3 separate regions of the Homo sapiens genome follow, and all the other regions are linked to region 3. The links are contacts of gene promoters, found by promoter capture Hi-C in blood cells and fetal thymus (Javierre and others, 2016). All regions are on one chromosome and are shown on one strand. The core of a region is centred on a gene start or on the middle of the fragment in contact, and the rest is flanking DNA. Distances in the headings are between cores, read along the strand shown. Region 1 overlaps LOC124904413 (a long non-coding RNA gene). Region 2 overlaps VPS45 (vacuolar protein sorting 45 homolog). Region 3 holds the start of H2AC18 (H2A clustered histone 18).

Region 1 (3,038 bases), core at 373-2,872, 200 kb before region 3:
GGGACTACAGGGACGCACCACCATGCCCAGCTAATTTTTGTATTTTTAGTAGAGATGTGGTTTCACCATGTTGGCCAGGATGGTCTTGATCTCTTGACCTCGTGATCCACCCGCCTCGGCTTCCCAAAGTGCTGGGATTATAGGCATAAGCCACCACGCCTGGCCTGAAATTATTTTTCTATACAGTTCTTAGAGGAAGTGTTTGGGTCACCTACATAGGCATGTAGTTCTTGACACTGGTTACTAGAGGATTTATAGAGGATGTTCATATATTCAACAAGCATTTGTTGAATACCTATTAGGTGCTAGCCATGGAAATATGGGATTGAAAAAAACAGACAAAAATCCCTAATCTCTCTTACAATCTAGTGAGGACAATCAGACAGTACACAAAATAAGCATAATATATAGTAATCATGTGGTAGTAAGTTCTATAGAGCAAAAACAAGTTTAAAGAAGGAGGTTGGGGGGAGTGTTGAGATGCATAAGGTTTGCAGTTATAAATGTGGTGGTTAGGGAATCATTTGCTGAAAAATGAACATTGAGCAAAAACCTGAAGGATGTTAAAGGAATAAGATACATGTAATCCAGATGAAAGTTTTTTGGATAAAGGAAAGAGCAATTGCTAAATCCCTGAGGTGGGAGTGGGCTGTTCATAAGACAGCAAAGCAGCCAGGGTAGCTGAGTGATTGACAGCGGAAGATGGAAAATGGGGAATAGTTGGTGTAGGACCTAGTTGTGAGGATATTGACTTTGTTTTTTTTCCAAGACAGAGCTGTGCTCTGTCGCCCAGGCTAGAGTGCAGTGGCATGATCTTGGCTCACTGCAATCTCCGCCTCCCGGGTTCAAGCAATGCTCCTGCCTTAGCCTCCCCAGTAGCTGGGATTACAGGCACCTGCCACCATGTCCAATTAATTTTTGTATTTTTAGTAGAGATGGGGTTTCGCCATGTTAGCCAGGCTGGTCTTGGACTCCTGACCTCAAGTGATCTGCCCGCCTCAGCCTCCCAAAGTGCTGGGATTACAGGCGTGAGCCACCATGCCCACCCTAGGATATTTACTTTTATTTTGAATAAGGATGCCACTGGAGGCCAGACGTGGTGGCTAACGCCTATAATCCCAGCACTTTGGGAGGACGAGGCGGGTGGATCACGAGGTTAGGAGATTGAGACCATCCTGGCCAACATGGTGGAACCCCGTCTCTACTAAAAAAAAAAAAAAAATTAGCCAGGTGTGGTTGCATGCGCCTGTAGTCCCAGCAACTCAGGAGGCTGAGGAAGGAGAATCACTTGAACCCGGGAGGTGGAGGTTGCAGTGAGCCGAGATCGCCCCACTGTACTCCAGCCTGGGTGACAGAGCAAGACTCTGTCTCAAAAAAAAAAAAAAAAAAAAATGCCACTGGAGAGCTTTGAGGAGAGGATCAGTCTGGCTACTGGGTTGGGAATTAATCATAGCAGGCAAAGGCAAAAGAAGTGAGGTTAGTTAGGAGGCTTTACAACAACCCAGATGAGAGATGGGAGGTTTTAGCCAGGGAGATGGAGATGTTGAGAGAGTAGCTGGACTCAGGATTGTGACAGTGGACTGAAGGAAAAGCAGGTTTTGGGGGAAGATTGCATTTCTCCCTTCAACTTCAGTTACGTAGATCACCCATATGCCACACAACTGCAACTCTGTAACAGCCAATTTTTAGCTTCTTCCTTATCTAAGCCATCCTGTAGGCCATAGGAATTAAAACTAGGTTGGATCAAGGAAAAGTGAATGCTAGATCCATACAAAACTATTTGGATATTTGCCTTTGTATTTTATTGTTTTGAAATTATTTTTAATGGTTCAATAAACTCTTACTAGAACTACAAGCAATATAATTATTTCCTCTGCTTTATTAGAAATGTTTTTGTAATCATGTTAATTATATTACTTTTAACTATATAAGGCTTGTGTCTCTTTTTTATAAATTGATGTTTATATCCTCTGTAAGATAAATATAAAGGCTTTTTGTTCATATGAGGATGTGCTGTAAGATTGCAGGGAGTATAAAAATTGGCAATGGAGTAGGTGACTTGTATTATTAGTCTGATCTTAATGTTGTAACATACTGATCATGCAAAATATATAATTAGTTTGTTTTTGCTATTTAATATGTGTAGGACTGTAACAAACAGACTAGAGAAGATGGCCATAAGTTACAAGAAAGCAAGTAAATTACTATCTAATTAAAAGTATTTGATTCTAATACTAGCAGAGTTCTGTCTAGAAAATAAATTAACTTTCTGTATGCTTTTTTTGGTCTCAATTTTCCAATAATTTCCCTCAACTCTGATATGTGTCTGTTGAATAATATTTCTGATGTTAAGAATTAAAGGGGGTGTAGATCAGTGGTAGGGCGCACGCTTAGCATGCATGAGGCCCTGGGTCAATCCCCAGCACCTCCACAAAGGTTTTCTGGCTGGACACGGTGGCTCACACCTGTAATCTCAGCATTTTGGGAAGCTGAGTTGGACAGATCACTAGAGGTCAGGAGTTCGAGACCAGCGTGGCCAACATGGTGAAACCCTATTTCTACTAAAAATACAAAAAAATTAGCCGGTCACGGTGGCACACACCTGTAATCTCAGCTACTTGGGAGGCTGAGGCATGACAATCGCTTGAACCTGGAAGGCGGGGGTTGTAGTGAGGTGAGATCATGCCACTGCACTCTAGCCTGGGTGACAGAGCAAGATTCCATCTCAAAAAAAAAAAAAAATTTAGTTTAAGAACAAATAATATTGTTTATTTTCATATGGGATTTGAAATCTGAATCTAATAATTATTGGTATTATTACTAATTCCCTTGCACCACTGAACAATTTTCTGTTTAGGGACGTTGGCTATAACAAGTATATAGACATAGTGATATATAAGTTTTCTGTTTTAAAACTGAGTTTCTTTTTTTCCCCTGCCAATTTAAAGGCACACAATCAGAGAGCTATTTTCACAGGTAACTAATACATCTTGTTTCTGCTTCATATTTTAAACTCTTATTTTTCACCCTTATGAAGT
Region 2 (2,844 bases), core at 266-2,765, 240 kb before region 3:
AGATCAAGTTTCCTAAAGGAACTAACATTCATTTATAAGACATCAACGAGAAAACCATTCTTCTTTTCTGATATTTAGAGATTCTTCCATTGTTTCTGGCTAAATCTTTTTTTACTTTTCTGTTTTCTTCTATCAAAACTATGATAAAGCAGCACAGCAAGAAGAAATCATTATGACATACACACATTTCAAACTATTATACAGATTACAGTTGGTCTTGGTAATAAAGATAGTCTCCGTCTTTTTTTTTGTTTTAGTTTAACCTAAAGAACAGGATCCCTTCTTTGTTATCTACTATATTAATGTAGTAAAGTCAGAGAATAACAAAATAAACCAACAGATTAGGACAGTAAGATGGAATTGGCAGAAGACTTCCACATGCTGATCTGACAAAAATGAGCCTAACAGTTTGAGAGAACAGTGTTGTGGGAATATAAAAAGCTTATCAGGGAAAAATGATAGAAAGCAGACAAGACCCAATTCTACTGACTGGTAAATACATCGGAGCCAGTATTCCTTTTCTTAATGACTAGTCAACATAAAATTGAGCTTTGCAGTAGATCTTCTGCTGATCAATACTATTTCTAAAATACTGGCTAAATGTTGTTTTAGAGTAAAAGGATCATTTTTACATTTAATTAATCAAAGTAAAATTGTCAGTCAGTTCAATGTGTCCCAACCACTTTTCTTATAATTTTAATGAGTGGCAAAACAAAACAAAACACACACACAAAAAAACCAAACACTTTTCTGAAATCAGAGAGATACAAGGCTATCACTGAACTAAAAAACATGTCTTGGATGCCATTAAGAAAATTAAATGTACCATCAAATAATAATACTCTTAATGTTGGTAGTTAATATTTCTTGAAAGCTGTAAGTACCAAGTACCATAAGTGTTTTACATGTATTAGCTCATTGCACTCTCACAACAATTCTGAGGTAAGTACTATTATTTTTCCCCCTTTATAGACAAAAGGACTGAGTTTTAGAGTGGTTAGGAATTATTTTCAAACCCAAGCCATCAAAGGCCCAAGCTCTTAGCCACTACTCTATACTGCTTCAAATAGAGCTCTTCCTCCTCATTTTTCTAATAAATATTTATTGAGTCCTTATTATGTATCATTAACAGGATGATTTGAGATCTTTATGAAAGGTCAGGAAAAAATACAAAATAGACTGGTTCCTCTCTCCAAATGAAAAACTGTGATATGACAACACAGGCTGGGCATGGGGGGCAGGGTATAGGGAGGATGGTAAGGGTGGAATTGCTCACTTTCTAAAGATGCTTTTCTTCATGGTATGGCAAATCTTCATTACTAATTAATAAATCTCTTCTGAGGATATGTATATGTTTCAGTGGTAGTAAATTTCACTTTGGTTCTAGTGAAATTCTTTCTAAATGAAATTTTCATTAGCCTACAAAATAATGGTTAGAATGGCAGCAATTTTTAAGTTAACTTTTAGCAATACATGCTTTTTTTTCTTGTCATGATACTATTCAATAAAGCAAACCCCATCTCTACTCACAAACCTCATTTCATTGCTTCATGACGTATTATCATCTAAGGTCAAGCCAAGGAATGCTATAACCCCTCTAGAAGTCAGGCCCCTGACATCCACTTACTATCAAACAAAAGATCCCTTTATAGACTATTTAAGTTATGTTGCCAAATAAGTCGTTTATGATGGGGGACTCCAAATCAACTGCTCACTGTAAAATCCCAATACCCTAGACAAGAAAACCTTCAAAAGATAAGTTCTAAAAATAAAAAGTGGATCACAAATAGAATTTATATTTTTAAAGTGACTATTTTTCTTTTAAAGTGAACACAAAAATAAAGTTTCAGACAAGTTATTACAAGAACTTTTTCTAATTGCTTTCCACATGTAGAGAGATACAAATAAAGACAGTAAAACTGGCTAGTGATTAAGTCTGGTTCTACTGTTTTCAAGGGAAAAATCAAATGATAAAGAAATATAAGAAATTTAAATTTAGTTACGGGACACAATTTTGTTTTTTATTTAATAAGAGGCAGAAAACTCATTTTTTGTGGTAAATATCAGGACATTTCTATTAGGCCCACAAAACAACTATAAAATACTATTAGTAGTGTTGTTTAAAGGCCAAGTTAAATAGATTAGGATACATCTTTACAAAGGATACTATTTAGTGATTAAAAAGAATGCGACTTTAGGTTCTGATCCAAAACCCAACAACAATAAGTCCCAGTAAAGACCCTGGTATAACTAGAGCACCCACAGGTAGACTTCTTTCTTTTGTTTGCACTATGTGTAAAAAAAAAATCATGCTTAGAGGAAGGGAACTAACATTTACAAAGCACCTATTACATGTGAAGCATTTTACATATCTCATTGAATCATCGTAACAGTCTGAAAGTTTGAAATCATAATCCCCAAGACTTGGGCAAATCAAGTAATTTTCCCAAAGAAACTTTGGTAAGGAGAGGTAGGATATAAGCCAAGCCAGTCTGGGTCCAAAACCTGAGTTGTTTCCAATATAACAGGTTGGCATTATTTTATAGAATAAAGTGGAACTGTAGCTGGGAAAGAAAGAAGCTAAGCTTTAGAATATAGGGCCCTATTAACAGGGAAATGTGCTTCTTATAAGTGGCTTAGAAATGGCTATTTCCTAAAGGACTCGTAGTCCTAAATTACTTGTCAGTGACATCATACTTTGTCATTTCTCAGGAAACATGGGATTACCTCTGATTTATTCTATCTTTATATCCAGCCTGTCGTCTAATTCTTCTCCCTTTGAAATGTTTTTCAGTTCAGCCCCTTGCTGTACATTTTTACTACTATCACTGTAAGTCTACAAGT
Region 3 (2,928 bases), core at 93-2,592:
TAAAATACCCAACGATAACAATGGGGAATTGTCTATCAGCACTTGACTAAAAAGCTTTACTATCCATGACAGCAGCCTTTGCATTACTCAATTCTGATGGCATTTAACGTCTTGAAACCCAGAAATAAATACCTATAGACTCACAGTACCTGAAAGGAATACCAAATTGAGACAAGAGAGCTATATAAACCAAAAATTGCTTCAACCACAGAATGGAGGTCTACAGGTGCGGAAGGAAAGTTTATATGGTGAGGCTTGGTCGCAAAACTATTAGGAATATTTTCAGGTTACTACACAATTTTGCGAGCTCAATATGCAGTTAACACTTTTTCCCTTGACTCTCCTGAGCAGATTTACATTGACCGCACCCGTAGCATATCGTCTCACTTTGGAAAAGGCAAATTATGTGCACATGACCCTGTCACTACAAGGTAGTTCTCGACCAAGCTACATCTTATAGCTTTATCTTATATTCCTCTCCCATCATCTGCAGGAAAAGGGATAGGTGCTGAGGGAAAACCCCTAAGTAGAACTCACAGTAAGCAGTGGGAAAACAGCTTATTTCACTAACGGGGTTAAGTGGCCCTGAAAAGAGCCTTTGGAGACAAAGCAGCCGGCGACCCGCGGAGGGAGGGAGGGAGGGAGCGAGCGAGCGCCAGGTCCCGGCAGGGACTCACTTGGAGCTGGCGTACTTGGTGACCGCCTTGGTGCCCTCGGACACGGCGTGCTTGGCCAGCTCGCCGGGCAGCAGCAGGCGCACGGCCGTCTGGATCTCCGGGACGTGATGGTGGAGCGCTTGTTGTAGTGCGCCAGGCGGGACGCCTCTCCCGCGATGCGCTCGAAGATGTCGTTGAGGAAGGAGTTCATGATGCCCATGGCCTTGCACCAGATGCCGGTGTCGGGGTGGACCCGCTTCAGCACCTTGTACACGTAGATGGAGTAGCTCTCCTTGCGGCTGCGCTTGCGCTTCTTGCCGTCTTTCTTCTGGGCTTTGGTGACGGCTTTCTTGGAGCCCTTCTTGGGAGCCGGCGCGAACTTTGCAGGCTCAGGCATGGCCAGACCCAAGACCGACACCGACCCCCGAGAACGCAAGCAGAGCGGTAGGCTCGGGGTCTACCGGAAACGACTGTGTACTTACAGAGGCTGTGCGCATGACGCTGCGTTATGGTTCGCGAGTTTTCCGCGGCGCGCAATGCGAGGGAGACGAGATTATGTAAATGAGTGGATTCTGGCTGAGCTATCCTATTGGCTATCGGGACAAAATTTGCTTGAGCCAATCAAAGTGCTCCGTGGACAATCGCCGTTCTGTCTATAAAAAGGTGAAGCAGCGGCGTTTTCGGCGACTTTCCCGATCGCCAGGCAGGAGTTTCTCTCGGTGACTACTATCGCTGTCATGTCTGGTCGTGGCAAGCAAGGAGGCAAGGCCCGCGCCAAGGCCAAGTCGCGCTCGTCCCGCGCTGGCCTTCAGTTCCCGGTAGGGCGAGTGCATCGCTTGCTGCGCAAAGGCAACTACGCGGAGCGAGTGGGGGCCGGCGCGCCCGTCTACATGGCTGCGGTCCTCGAGTATCTGACCGCCGAGATCCTGGAGCTGGCGGGCAACGCGGCTCGGGACAACAAGAAGACGCGCATCATCCCTCGTCACCTCCAGCTGGCCATCCGCAACGACGAGGAACTGAACAAGCTGCTGGGCAAAGTCACCATCGCCCAGGGCGGCGTCTTGCCTAACATCCAGGCCGTACTGCTCCCTAAGAAGACGGAGAGTCACCACAAGGCAAAGGGCAAGTGAGGCTGACGTCCGGCCCAAGTGGGCCCAGCCCGGCCCGCGTCTCGAAGGGGCACCTGTGAACTCAAAAGGCTCTTTTCAGAGCCACCCACGTTTTCAAATAAAAGAGTTGTTAATGCTGGCCACTCTCAGTCCAGCGTTCCTCAGTAGTGAATAGCGAACCTGGAGCTGACGGGACGGGACGGGACGGGACGGGACGGGACGGGGCGGGGCGGGGCGGGGTGTGTGTGTGTGCGCGCCGTCTTCCATCTGGAGCACGTAACTGCCTTGGCTCTTCGATGAGTGGGTCCCCAGTCCTAGGACTTCCCAGGGCAGGTGCAGGCACCAAACGTCCTGGGCGCCGCCACGGTCCGCTCCACACAGTCACAAACACCAGCGCCGCGGGCAGTACCCAACGCGCTGAAGTGTTGCGCGCGGAGCGCGCGCTTCCCTAGTGGTTTCCGCAGGCTATGGCCGGACACTTAGACCTAGTCTGGCACCAGCGGGACGTGCTCCTCGTCCCCACCCCCGATGGGGAGGGCCCTGAGCGGGTAGTGCTCGCTAGTGTGGCGGAGCTGGGTCTTGGCTTCACTGAGCTGACTTAAGTCTTAGTTTCTGTTTTGTTTTCCAAAGCGCCCTGGCGGCGGAGAGTAAGGGCCTCGGAGGCGGAATCTTGCGTCCTGGGGGCGGGCACCTCTCCCACCCAAAAGGCACCCGACAGGCGAAAAACGATCCGCCAAGTAGCAACTGGGGGCGGGGGGCAAATGGAAGAATGAGGTTCCACGCGGGAGCTGTAGGGCGCAGCAAGAAAGGGGGGGTATTGCGGGCAGTGTGTTCTAAGGAAGCGAAGGGCGGAAAGGGAACAATCTGACAAAGCTGCAATGGAAAATGACTTTCACCCTGAAGGAAAGGGGAAAAACAAGCTTGCGAAACTTCGCCAACTGGTAAGTAGAAAGTGAGGCGGGGTGGGCGGGATTAGGGAGGAATCTGCCCAAGCCAACCGGTGACTTTAGGACGGGTGACGTCACAGCCAATGGACAGCCAGCGCGGGATTTTCAATTATTGTTCCGCCCAATCGGGAAAAGACTGTGCTTATAAAGACGGCTGCGGCGGGGCTAGGAGCTCGTTTTTCTCCCCGCCGCTGCGCTGGTAAGCCTGTGTTTTGG

Evidence for each region. The method cuts DNA at HindIII sites, captures the fragments that hold promoters and counts their contacts. A CHiCAGO score of 5 or more calls a contact.
Region 1: a contact is called between a fragment that was not itself captured here and the fragment with the promoter of H2AC18 in region 3, in 5 of 17 cell types (naive CD8 T cells, naive CD4 T cells, naive B cells and 2 more). The highest score is 7.2, in naive CD8 T cells.
Region 2: a contact is called between a fragment that was not itself captured here and the fragment with the promoter of H2AC18 in region 3, in 2 of 17 cell types (naive B cells and M0 macrophages). The highest score is 6.6, in naive B cells.

The regions. Positions count from the first base shown.
Region 1 is chr1:150,044,799-150,047,836 of GRCh38, reverse strand. The region is part of intron 1 of LOC124904413 (a long non-coding RNA gene); the gene reads right to left. It also overlaps a transcript of OTUD7B not described here. Among named protein-coding and RNA genes, the nearest start is that of VPS45, 21 kb to the left of the region's middle. The HindIII fragment of the contact is 5,915 bases long and covers 1-3,038 here.
Region 2 is chr1:150,084,378-150,087,221 of GRCh38, reverse strand. The region is part of intron 10 of VPS45 (vacuolar protein sorting 45 homolog); the gene reads right to left. Among named protein-coding and RNA genes, the nearest start is that of VPS45, 18 kb to the right of the region's middle. The HindIII fragment of the contact is 2,144 bases long and covers 444-2,587 here.
Region 3 is chr1:149,841,164-149,844,091 of GRCh38, reverse strand. It overlaps H2AC18 (H2A clustered histone 18), which reads left to right and starts at 1,342. Exons shown (of 1, transcript NM_003516.3): 1 at 1,342-1,874. The coding sequence starts at 1,394. The coding sequence ends at 1,786. H3C14 (H3 clustered histone 14) reads left to right here and starts at 2,884. Exons shown (of 1, transcript NM_021059.3): 1 at 2,884-2,928. It also overlaps the pseudogene H2BC19P. The HindIII fragment of the contact is 2,631 bases long and covers 57-2,687 here.